Linked DNA regions of Homo sapiens: region 1 is linked to region 2. Evidence: promoter capture Hi-C in 16 types of primary human blood cells and fetal thymus (Javierre and others, 2016). All regions are on one chromosome and are shown on one strand. The core of a region is centred on a gene start or on the middle of the fragment in contact, and the rest is flanking DNA. Distances in the headings are between cores, read along the strand shown. Region 1 holds the start of PSME2 (proteasome activator subunit 2). Region 2 holds the start of BCL2L2-PABPN1 (BCL2L2-PABPN1 readthrough).

Region 1 (5,502 bases), core at 3,001-5,500, 840 kb after region 2:
CCACAGTGCCTTGGAAGCATTATTTTTTCCCCTCCTAGCCCTTAAGGAGGGAGTCCAGGCCCGGCGCGGTGGCTCACGCCTTGTAATCCCAGCACTTTGGGAGGCCGAGGTGGGTGGATCGCCTGAGGTCAGGAGTTCGAGACCAGCCTGGCCAACATGGCGAAACCCCGTCTCTATTAAAAATACAAAAAAATTAGCCAGGTGTGGTGGCACATGCCTGTAATTCCAGCTACTCGGGAGGCTGAGGCAGGAGAATTGCTTGAACCCGGGAGACGGAGGTAGCAGTAAGCTGAGATCGTGCCATTGCACTCCAGCCTGGGCAACAGAGCAAGACTCCATCTCAAAAAAAAAAAAAAAAGGGTGGGGGGAGTCCAATCATTCATCCGTAGTTCTCCATAGTTCTCCCAGTGAAACCTTATTCTCCTTCTAGGCTTTTCCTGAACTGATGAGGATTCTTTCTTTCTTCATTCCTGATGTTGACCACAGAACTTTCCCCTTGTGTATCCAAAGCCTGATTATTCCCATAAGGGCTCTGTGCAAATGCCATCTCTTCCAATAATTCCTGAGACCTCTGGATGAAAATAATACTGTTACATTCCAAAATACAGGTTATCTGCATGGCTGCCATGGCATGTAACAATCCCCACCCTAGGCACTCAGGGTGAAGGACTTGGACTATAAACCCAATGGAGAAGATAGCCCTTCAACCTCTGTGACTTTTCTAAAGCTACTTTCCCCCCTTTTTGCCTTAGATGGAAACAGATAAGCAGGAGAAGAAAGAAGGTAAGTGAGATAAGAGGTGACTAGGGAAGGGGAGATGGCACATTGACTACTGGATGAGAAAGGGCCTGAATCCCCTCTTTCTCACAGTCAAGATTACAGTGGGCATCTAAGTCATCTTTGTCTTTGTGACACCCACCCCTTCCCACCACATTCATCTTCAGGCTGGACATAGGTGCCACTCAATAAATGCTTTTTGAATGAATGACACACGCCAGAAGGGAATCCACACAACATATAGATCATTTATTTTCCTTCTAGTCCCGGGTTCAGTACATAGATGGCTTTTCTTCACCCTTTGGGTTGACAATTTTCTCCAGGTTGCTGCTGATGATATGATAAAGCTCAGCCTGGGAGAAGGCCAGAGTGCAAGAGTCAGGTTCTTAGCCAATCCCCTGCCTGCCCCCACTCATCCACCTCCCCTAAAGCCTTACTCCACACTCACATAGAAGGCCCTCAGGTCCAGCACCATGGCCCTGAGCTCCCCATAGGCTGCCTCATCTCGCTCATGCACCAAGGCCCGGTAATCCATCTGCAATGTGGGAGGCAAAGCTGAGTCAGTCCCATGGGAGGCTGGGACATGAGTCTGGTTTCCTTTTATAGGAAATAGGTTAACTTGAGAATGAACCCCTTCTTAGCACCAAGAAATAGGATCCCAAAGGACTGAGCAGAGAAAAGGGTCAAGGTTGTTGAAGCCCAAACCAGTTTTTCTAGGTAATGCTTTTAGCTTAATATTCTCCACATTGGGAAAGTCACAAACAAGACAAGGAGGACTTCTTCCTCCACACCTCCTCGTCCCACACCCAGCTAAAAGGCTGGTGGACTATCCACTCACTACATGAGTCTCCTTGGAGGCCTTGGCCACAGCATCCCCACGTTCTGAGAAGTACCTGCCAGAAGCAAGGGAATACCACAGGAATGAGTGTTCAGGGAGATGTACTCCCTCAGACCCTTCCCAAAGTCTCCCATCATCCTGATAGGGCTGCCCAGCTCTGGGGGTCCCAAAGAAATGCTCCTACTGCCCCCAATGCTGGTCCTCCAGCTGCCCTCACTTGGAAATGGTTGTCTGGAAAGCTTCCACTTTGGTCTTGACGGCATTCACCCTCTCCAGCACCTTCTCCTGTGGTGACACGGGAGGCAAAGACAACACTTCATGTCCTCCCCATTTCATACACTATCTTCCTCCTCCTCCTGGTTCATGTCTAGCTCACCCCCTGAGGCTCTCCCCACTCTAAGTATCTTCAGTTACCCTTTTCTTACCTGGATTGCTACCCCAAAATCATTTCCATCTTCAATCTTGGGGATCAGGTGTTGGATCCATGTAATCACCTGTGTTAAGAGGTATCATGTAAGAATCATTCAACAAACATACTGAGTTCTTCCTATTACTGTCACTTCCTAAAAAAAGTTATATTTAATTGGGTACTTATTACATACCAGGTACTGTGCCATGTATTTATTTCATGTAATCATCACAGCAACCTTCAGAGATATGTATTTATTGTACCCATTTAACAGATGAAAAAACTGAGTCACAGAATGTCTAAGTGACTTACTTAAGGCTACCAGCTAGGTAACTGATAGAATCACGATTTGAACCTAAGCAGTCTCTCTCTAGGGTCCAATCTTTTAAAACAATTCACTCACTATATCATACCACCTCTACTATGAACCCAATACAGCAGTAGGTTCTGAGGTTACAGAGTGGATACTGCACAGTCTCTAATTTTGGGGGTACCGTTGTGATAAGAGAGGTCTAACAGAACGAGGAGAACAAAGGGGATCTAAGCCCAAGGCACAGAAGGAAGTTTTCTTTTTCAGGACTAGGTCTCTGTATGAAGGACTTGTATCTACGGAGGAGTCCAGGGCCTCACCTTGTGTGTCTTCTCTTTCTGCTTCCCCCATTTCCCAGGCTTACCAGAATGCATTTCTCTTTGAGAGTCCAGACTTCTGGCTTAACCAGGGCAAGCAGGGACAGGACTTTCTCATTCCCAGGGAGAAATCCACACTTATGGACTGTGAGAAAGAGGGGATTCAGGCCCTTTCTCATCCAGTAGTCAGTGTGCCATCACCCCTTCCCTAGTCACCTCTTATCTCTCTTACCTTCTTTCTTCTCCTGCTTATCTGTTTCCATCTAAGGCAAAAAGGGGGGAAAGTAGCTTTAGAAAAGTCACAGAGGTTGAAGGGCTATCTTCTCCATTGGGTTTATAGTCCAAGTCCTGCACCCTGAGTGCCTCACCTCATCATCCTTGGGTGGAGGGTCTGGGATGGGGATGTCCAGTGGGGCCCGGAGGGAAGTCAAGTCAGCCACATTGAGGGAGTCCTCCTGCACAGAGCTCACTGTCAAGGGCTGCCCAACCTCTTCCCTTCATCCTAGGTCACAGCCTTCCCTCCATACATCCCACTTGCACTCTGCCTCCCAACCTAGGCTCATGCCTCACGCCATCCTAATGTTCCTAATCCACTATTTGAAACTATTCTCTGCATGCTGAATCCAGTTGTTAGCTAGAGAGGGTGGGCAAAGGGGATAGAGGACATAGGATGGGGCAGAAGGGGCCCACACTACTCACTTGCAAGAGCTGATTCAGGTATATGATTTTCTGTGGCAAGAATCTGTAGAGGAATTCCTCAGCCTGTGGGTTACATTGCAAGGGAGGGGAATCACAGAATATGCTCAATGAGATGTCTGACAAATGGAACTGGAAGGGCCTTTGGAAATCACTGGGTCCAAGACTTGCAAATGAGGAAACTGAAGACCTGAAAATGAAAGGACTTGCCCAAGCTGGTAAATGGCAGAACGAAGGTTAGGACTGTGATATTCCTGCTTTGGAAGCCATGGTTTTTTTCCTCCACATCAAAAGACGGGAGAAGTGCCAGAAGTCGGGAGAGTCATAAGAAAGGTCAGATTAAAGGTAGCTATCAATAATTCCGGGGTTACTTTGGGTGAAGGCTTGGTAAGGGAAGTAGGGTTAAGTCTAGGGTGACTTGGGGGGGTCATTCTGAGAGGCTGTTATCCTCAAGTATTGGTCCAAGATTCTGGGTCAAATCGCTCAAATCCAGAGACTTACCTCCTGGAAAAGATTCTGTCTGAAGACCTCCACCTACACAGAGAGCAGTACCCGGATGTTGGTTAAGGGTCTGGGTTGTCAAAAGCTTCCACCCACAACAGGGTGCCCTCGAACTGTGGCTCAGGCCTTTCTCACCACAAACTAGCTTTCCCTGGAAGCTCCTGCTCACTGCAGTCAGAAGGCAGGAATCTGGGAATCCCCGAGAAGTGAAGGCACTAGCGAGATTGGGGGAGTTCTCTGGCACTGCTTGGTCCCCTGAACCACCCAGCTTGGCCTCCACCCAAGAGGGTTCTATGACCCCTTCCTGGCCTCCGATTCCCCATTACCTGTTTGCGGGCTTCCCCGCTCAGGCGCACCCCACACGGCTTGGCCATGCTGCTTCAGTCGCTAGATCTCTGGTCTCCCGGCTAGTCGCCCGGGCTTTCGCTTTCACTCCCCAGGTCCAGGCCCGCCCCCCTCAACCCCGCCCCCTTTCTTCTTTCCGCCCCCCTCCTCCCGCTGGCAGGCCGCAAGCAGTAGGTAGCCCCTCAGCCATTCCCAGCCAGTTGCCACTAGGAGAGGCGGTGCTGGCTGGGTCACAGTCCAGGGGCTGCCCGAGGGAGGGGCTAGGGTAAGTGGGACCGCGGAGACTGGAGCGGGGGCTGTCCCTCGGAGAGGGGCGGGGCTTATAGCTAGGGCCAACTGGAAGTCCAGGGTTGGGGTAAGAGAGGTGGGAGTATGGCAAAGGGGGTATTCAGTGGCGGGGCTCCCCCAAGAAGGCTCGACCGCAAGTAGCGGACGGAGAGAGATCAGAGCGAGTGGGAGGGGCAGCCAGAGGGAGCGCCTGGGGTGGAGAAGGACTAGCAGCTCTTAGAAGAGAGCGGGCAGGGGTTGGGTGAGGGTCTTCCCTCTGCCTTCAGGACAGACCGGAGATGGGGCGGGACTCGCTCGAGAGGGGTTAGGGCCGGCCAGAGTCGGTTCCCCTGCAGGGTGGGACTTCCTCGGTGAGGCCCGGAGCGTACCGGACTGGTCCAGCTAGAAAAAGAAAGGTTTTGAGCTGAATAGGATAACCCCGCGCCTGCGGCTATCCGGAAGGGGTGGAACCAGATTGGGGGAAGGCGGGGAAGAGCGCTTGACTGAGGGAAGATGCTGGCGCGCTCTGAGGGAGGAGCCAGGAGCCATTTGCCTTCTCATTGGTTGGGACCTGGCCCTCCCTCTTGGCCGCGCCCCCTGGTTTCCTGACACCGCTCCAACCTTAACCTTAAGCCCCGCCCGTTCCTCCGAAATTGGGTCGCAGTCCCACCCTCTCTCCTAGTACTTCCTGTTCTCGGCTAACCCTGGCGCTGGGCCGGGGGCTGGAGAGTGACCGTGGTCTGAGTGACCTGGGGCGGCTGCGTGGGCCGGGGTGGGCCTCAAAGCCGGGCACCAGACGGGAGGGGCGGCGCTCGGGCCGCGCGCTGCCCGCGCCGGGTCCTGGCGGGCGGCGAGGCTGGGGCTGACTCCTGCCTCAGGATGCCGGGGGAGGAAGAGGAGCGGGCCTTCCTGGTGGCCCGCGAGGAGCTGGCGAGCGCCCTGAGGAGGGATTCCGGGCAGGCGTTTTCCCTGGAGCAGCTCCGGCCGCTACTAGCCAGCTCTCTGCCGCTAGCCGCCCGCTACCTGCAGCTGGACGCCGCAC
Region 2 (5,550 bases), core at 2,692-5,191:
TAACCAAGCATGGTGCAGTACACCTCTAGTCCCAGCTACCAGGGAGGCTGAAGTGGGAAGATTGCTTGAGCCTAGACGGTGGAAGCTGAAGTGAACTGTGCTTGTACCACTGCACTCCAGTTTAGGCCATGGAGTGAGAACCTTGTATCACAAACAAACAAATAAACCAGGAGTGCAAATGAAGACTTGGACTAGGTTATTCTCTAAAGAAGAGGGCAACCTTGCTGGTGGCAGCCAGAATGATCAGGCTAAGAGCAAAAATGAAATGAGGATGGTTGAAAGGATACAGCCATAAAGGAGTGTAATAGGCTGTGTGTTTAGAATAGAGGAGAGAATTGAGTATGGACTTGTAAATGGTGTGGATTCAGACTATGAGAACCATATTGACTATGTGAAGGCAAGAGGTGATCTTGAAGCGATAGTGTCAAAGTTACAGCATGAGATGGCTGTGCTAGCTTCTTACATATCAGCCTATGGCTTTGGGAAAATCACTTAACCTCTCCAAACCTCAATTTCCTCATTCATAGAATGAGGATAAAACAGCATAAGGACTGGTGAGAGGAAAAAATACACATGTAAAAAAAGCACAGCATCTAATAACTCCTCAAAATATGTTAGTTTTTACCTTTTTTTTTTTTTGAGATAGAGTCTCGTTCTATCACCCAGTCTGGAGTGCAGTGGCATGATCTCAGCCTCCTGGGTTCAAGTGATTCTCATGCCTCAGCCTCCTGAGCAGCTGGGATTACAGGCTGGCTAATTTTTGTATTTTACGTCTGGCTAATTTTTGTATTTTTAGTAGAGATGGGGTTTTGCCATGTTGGTCAGGCTGGTCTCGAACTCCTGGCCTCAAGTGATCCACCCGCCTTGGCCTCCCAAAGTGTTGGGATTACAGGTATGAGCCACCGAACCCAGCTAGTTGTTACTGTTATTGCTGCAGAAAAGACCTTGCTTCTCCAGTGACCATAAGGGAAGATGGTAATACAGAGGCTTGGATTGGAGGTAGAAGCAAAGGGAGCTAGCAGAATAGGAGAATTAGGTTGCCTCTTTCTGGCCTTTGGTTGGGGCACTCTTTAAAAAAGTGCCAGATCCAAGAGCCCAGGGGGCTGGCTGTGAGTGCCCTCATGTGGATCAGCTATGGTCAGACTGCTTCACGCCTGTGACCTGCCCTGTATAAATATACTGCCATGTATAAATAATGGCCCCATATATATGTAATCTGGAAGGATAAACATCAAGCTTAACACTGGCAACCTGCAGGGAGGGAAGTGGAATTGGGTGTGTATGTGTGTGTGTGTTTGAGAACCTGTATTTTATTACTCCGCACGTCTTTATTGTTTGATTTTTTTCATAATGAGAATGAGTTTGTGTGTTGGGTAAAAAAAAGAAAAAGAAAAAAACCCCACTAAAATCAATCTAATTACAAAAGAAGATGAATTAAAGAAAAGTACCGAGAGAAACTGCTTGTGATCCAAGTCCTGGCTCCCTAATGCCTGGCTGAAGCCCAGCCCACAAAGAGAACACTGGGTTAAAGGTCCTGGAGAAAAGATGGGAAAGGTTTGGTGTCTATGTGGTGTCTGCTAGCCCCATAAGGGTAAGGCACCTGGTAGACGGTTCCCAGCTTAATGGGAACTGCTCCTGTTTTCCAGGCACACAGTTCAGGGCTGGAAAAGTTCAACAAGTGCATGGAACATCGGAAACCTCCTGAAAATGCTAAATTTGCCCCGAGATGTCCCGAAGTCCGGCATATTTCTCTGGGCAGCCTAGAGGCTCAGGAGCCCAGCCCAGCCCAGCCCACCGTGCCCTCTCAGCCAGCCCTTCTTTGCCTTCAGCAGCCCTCCCTCTTCCTGAGTAGTGGCCCTTTGCAGGCCTGCGTCCCAGCCCCGCCCCTCTCTCTGGACGCATCTCTGGGCCCCATCATCACCCGGCGCCGGGCCCTCCCTCTGCCCCCCCCTTTCTCCTCCCTCCTTCCTTCCCTCCCTTCCTCCCTCTCTCCCTCCCTCCCAGCTCCTGCACCAGGAAACGGCCCGGATCCCGGCAGCGGCCTGACCCGTGAGATCCCTAACCTGGCAGGCGGGCGGGGTTGGAGACTGGCTGAGGTGGGGGTAAGGGAGGAGCTGGGCCTTTGGGCTGCACTAGGGGGAACCGGGAATAGAGATGGTGTCGGCAGGAAGCCCTTGGCCTTGGGTTTCCCGGGAGGACAGTCATTAAACATGGATTCGGCCACACAGCTGGTAGAGCGTTGGGGGCAGGGGCCTAGGCCCAGAGCTGCAACCCTAGCCCTTCCCAGGCCAGAACCTGATCCCTGGCCTTCCCCTCCTGGTTCTGATCTCCCCCTCCCCTTTCCAGGGCTCCACGCTGGCCAGGAGGATGAAAGGCCCCAGCTGGGGGCTCCTTGCCACCAGTGCTGTGTCTTAAGAGCTGCCATCCCGGCTGGGTGAGTGTCTCCTTCCTTTCTCTGTCTGGAGTAACCCATTGCGTCTCCCACCTTTCTCTTCAGCCCATCTGCTCCCCCTCATCTTGTGTCTCTGCCAACATCTTTACATCTTGCATTTGGGGAGGTCCTAAGACCCTTCCTCTAGCCAAGAAGGTGTGGACTAAGGAGACCCGGGGGTGGGGGTGTTGTAGGGGTGTCATTGAGCTGACGTTGTCTTATTGTGAAAAGAATCTAAAGTATCCTAAACAGAAAATTTACTTGTTTTACATTTAATTTGGCATATTAGGAATGTAATGGCCAGCCACTCACAGCCTAGTCTCATATCATGACTTAATTCCCTTGTTCTTGCCTCTCCCTGTCCAGTGAGTCCTGAGCATTTCCTCTCTCCTCCTCATCTCACTGGGTTGGTCAAACCAGAAGTGCTCCTTCTGATTCTCTCTTCATATATTCATGCCAGTCTTTCATCCTTGCCTCTTATAGCCGCCCGGATGGCGACCCCAGCCTCGGCCCCAGACACACGGGCTCTGGTGGCAGACTTTGTAGGTTATAAGCTGAGGCAGAAGGGTTATGTCTGTGGAGCTGGCCCCGGGGAGGGCCCAGCAGCTGACCCGCTGCACCAAGCCATGCGGGCAGCTGGAGATGAGTTCGAGACCCGCTTCCGGCGCACCTTCTCTGATCTGGCGGCTCAGCTGCATGTGACCCCAGGCTCAGCCCAACAACGCTTCACCCAGGTCTCCGATGAACTTTTTCAAGGGGGCCCCAACTGGGGCCGCCTTGTAGCCTTCTTTGTCTTTGGGGCTGCACTGTGTGCTGAGAGTGTCAACAAGGAGATGGAACCACTGGTGGGACAAGTGCAGGAGTGGATGGTGGCCTACCTGGAGACGCAGCTGGCTGACTGGATCCACAGCAGTGGGGGCTGGGTAAGAAGCTTCTCAATTGCCGCTCTGCACATCCTTCTGCAAAGCTGGTCTCCAGGGGGAAGATGGGGGCTCTGATTGGAGGCTGAGGCAGCTATGTTGGGAATGAGGTACGGGGCTGAGTCTCCCCGTCTGGATGGAATTAGATTGAGAGATGCCTGGACTCTGCACTCCAGGGCTGCCATGCAGTCAACACTGGATGGGCTCATGGTCCCAAGCAGAGGACAGAATACACACCCAAGGAGTGCCTGCAGGGGAATGTTGTCAGGGACTTTTTACATCTGAGTCATGGCGTGGGAGGTGGGGAGGACCAGGGATGGGTGGTGGTCAGGCAAGCCTTGGCAAAGGATGCTAGTTCTGAGCAGAATTTTTCGCCAAGGAAAGGATGGAATTCACTGGAGGCAGAGTGGGCAGATGAACCAGTCTCTCAGGGTGGGGGTGCACCTGGGGGGATCAGAGGGGCTTGCAGGGAGAAGAGCTTTGGCCAGAGAGGAGCTGGGTATGGGGTAGTGCTCGCAGTGGATGGAACTGGAACTCTTCCTCTCCTCTTCTCTCCACTCTTTCCTCTCCTGATATCCCTTTCTCCTTCTTTCTCTCCTGCTTCCCTTCTCTCCCACAGGCGGAGTTCACAGCTCTATACGGGGACGGGGCCCTGGAGGAGGCGCGGCGTCTGCGGGAGGGGAACTGGGCATCAGTGAGGACAGTGCTGACGGGGGCCGTGGCACTGGGGGCCCTGGTAACTGTAGGGGCCTTTTTTGCTAGCAAGTGAAAGTCCAGGGCCAGGTGGGGCTAGGTGTGGCTGGGGGCCAGGAGAGCAGGAACAGAACAGAGAAATGCCCTTGGAAGAAGTGGAGTTGGTGGATGGGTGGGCATGGAACAGGATGGGCAGAGAAAGGGTAGTGTGTGAGGGAGCTGAGTAGGCCAGGTAGGCGATTGGAAGAGTGAGCAGGACACAGAGGGGAGGGGAATGTTTTGGCAAGTTTAGGGGCACAGGAGATGTAGTCGTTCCAGGGCTGGGGGAGGTGGGAGGGATCACGCCTATAGGTGTGGGCACATGAAACGACCTGGAACTTGCTTCACAGCCCTGAGGAAGGTGGACTTACATAAGCAGCTGTATTCCATTAGATGAGTGGGATTTAGGGAACGCAGAAGGCACATCCCTTTGGAATGGAAGCTTAGGGGTTCTCAGGTGATAGGGAGAGGTGGCTGTTAACAGTGGGCTGCTTGGACACGCGTGTGCATGTGCACGCATGCTGGTGTGCATGCTGGGCTGCCTGGCAAATCTGGTGGTGATGGGATTCCTCAAGGAGAAAACATTCCCTCTTGCAATGGCAAGAACTAGGGGCAGTTCTCTGTCCCTCCTCCCAACCCCTCCTTTCCCCTGCCCTTGTCCTGATGCCTCAAGGCTTAGAGAGAAACATTGTATCCAGACCGAGGGCTCTGCTGCTTCTTTCCAGAAAGTGATTGGCAAGGCTTTGGAGAGAAGAGCAGTTCTGCAGCTGGCCTTGTTCCTTCATCATCCCCCTTCCTTGTGCATTATGCACTTGCTGCTGCCTCCTGGGCTCTGATAGAAGGGCAGGGCTGTTGAGCCTGGATGGGTGGAGGCTTAGGTAGCCGGACCTGCCTGCCACCCTCCTCTCCCACTCAGGCACAATGGTGCCTAAAGTGTTTCCAATCTCTGGGACCTCTGTACCCAAACTGAAACTCTAAATTGGGGCCCTAACTAATTTTCCTTTTGAGGTTGTGGGCATAAGTGCTGATCTAGAATACAGTCTGGGTCCCACACTGTGTCTCAGTGAGACTGTTGATGCCTTGAGATGACCATTTCAGATCTGAATCCCATGGGTGTGAGGGTGATGGGTACTCCAGGACTGGCCTATGCTGTGTTGTGGGCTTTGGTTCGGCTTTATCAGGGGCCAGGCATATGGGTTCTAGAGTACCTACCATGACCTAGAAGCATTTATGATTTATTTGAAGCCACACTGTTTGCATGGGTGTTACTTGTCTGTACCTCAGAGTCTGAGGATGTTAACTTTGGAACTCGCAGTCCTCTAGAACAGCTTCAGATTATGGCTTTTTCTTTTGAGGAAGAAATTATTCACTCCAGATGCATGCCCTGAGCCAGACCTCACTGCTGCACTTTCCAAGGTGCTAAGATTGCTGCTCTCCAATGCTAACTTTCTGACACAGTGCTCTAGA

Evidence for each region. The method cuts DNA at HindIII sites, captures the fragments that hold promoters and counts their contacts. A CHiCAGO score of 5 or more calls a contact.
Region 1: the fragment with the promoter of PSME2 here is called in contact with a fragment that was not itself captured in region 2 in 1 of 17 cell types (erythroblasts); the score reaches 7.3 in erythroblasts.

Annotation. Positions count from the first base shown.
Region 1 is chr14:24,142,360-24,147,861 of GRCh38, forward strand. It overlaps PSME2 (proteasome activator subunit 2), which reads right to left and starts at 4,251. Exons shown (of 11, transcript NM_002818.3): 1 at 4,175-4,251; 2 at 3,849-3,881; 3 at 3,351-3,413; 4 at 3,020-3,106; 5 at 2,884-2,914; 6 at 2,699-2,796; 7 at 2,041-2,109; 8 at 1,833-1,900; 9 at 1,616-1,670; 10 at 1,226-1,312; 11 at 1,006-1,130. The coding sequence starts at 4,222. The coding sequence ends at 1,050. RNF31 (ring finger protein 31) reads left to right here and starts at 5,139. Exons shown (of 21, transcript NM_017999.5): 1 at 5,139-5,502. The coding sequence starts at 5,340. MIR7703 (microRNA 7703) reads right to left here and starts at 1,206; the gene lies at 1,130-1,206. RefSeq lists silencers at 4,297-4,356, 5,057-5,146, 5,177-5,406 and enhancers at 4,667-4,736, 4,874-5,374, 4,921-5,215. The HindIII fragment of the contact is 5,988 bases long and covers 3,932-5,502 here.
Region 2 is chr14:23,304,846-23,310,395 of GRCh38, forward strand. BCL2L2-PABPN1 (BCL2L2-PABPN1 readthrough) reads left to right here and starts at 1,988. Exons shown (of 8, transcript NM_001387346.1): 1 at 1,988-2,049; 2 at 2,347-2,434; 3 at 2,915-3,354. The coding sequence starts at 2,923. It overlaps BCL2L2 (BCL2 like 2), which reads left to right and starts at 1,988. Exons shown (of 4, transcript NM_004050.5): 1 at 1,988-2,049; 2 at 2,347-2,434; 3 at 2,915-3,354; 4 at 3,971-5,550. The coding sequence starts at 2,923. The coding sequence ends at 4,120. RefSeq lists an enhancer at 2,847-3,680. The HindIII fragment of the contact is 1,163 bases long and covers 3,361-4,523 here.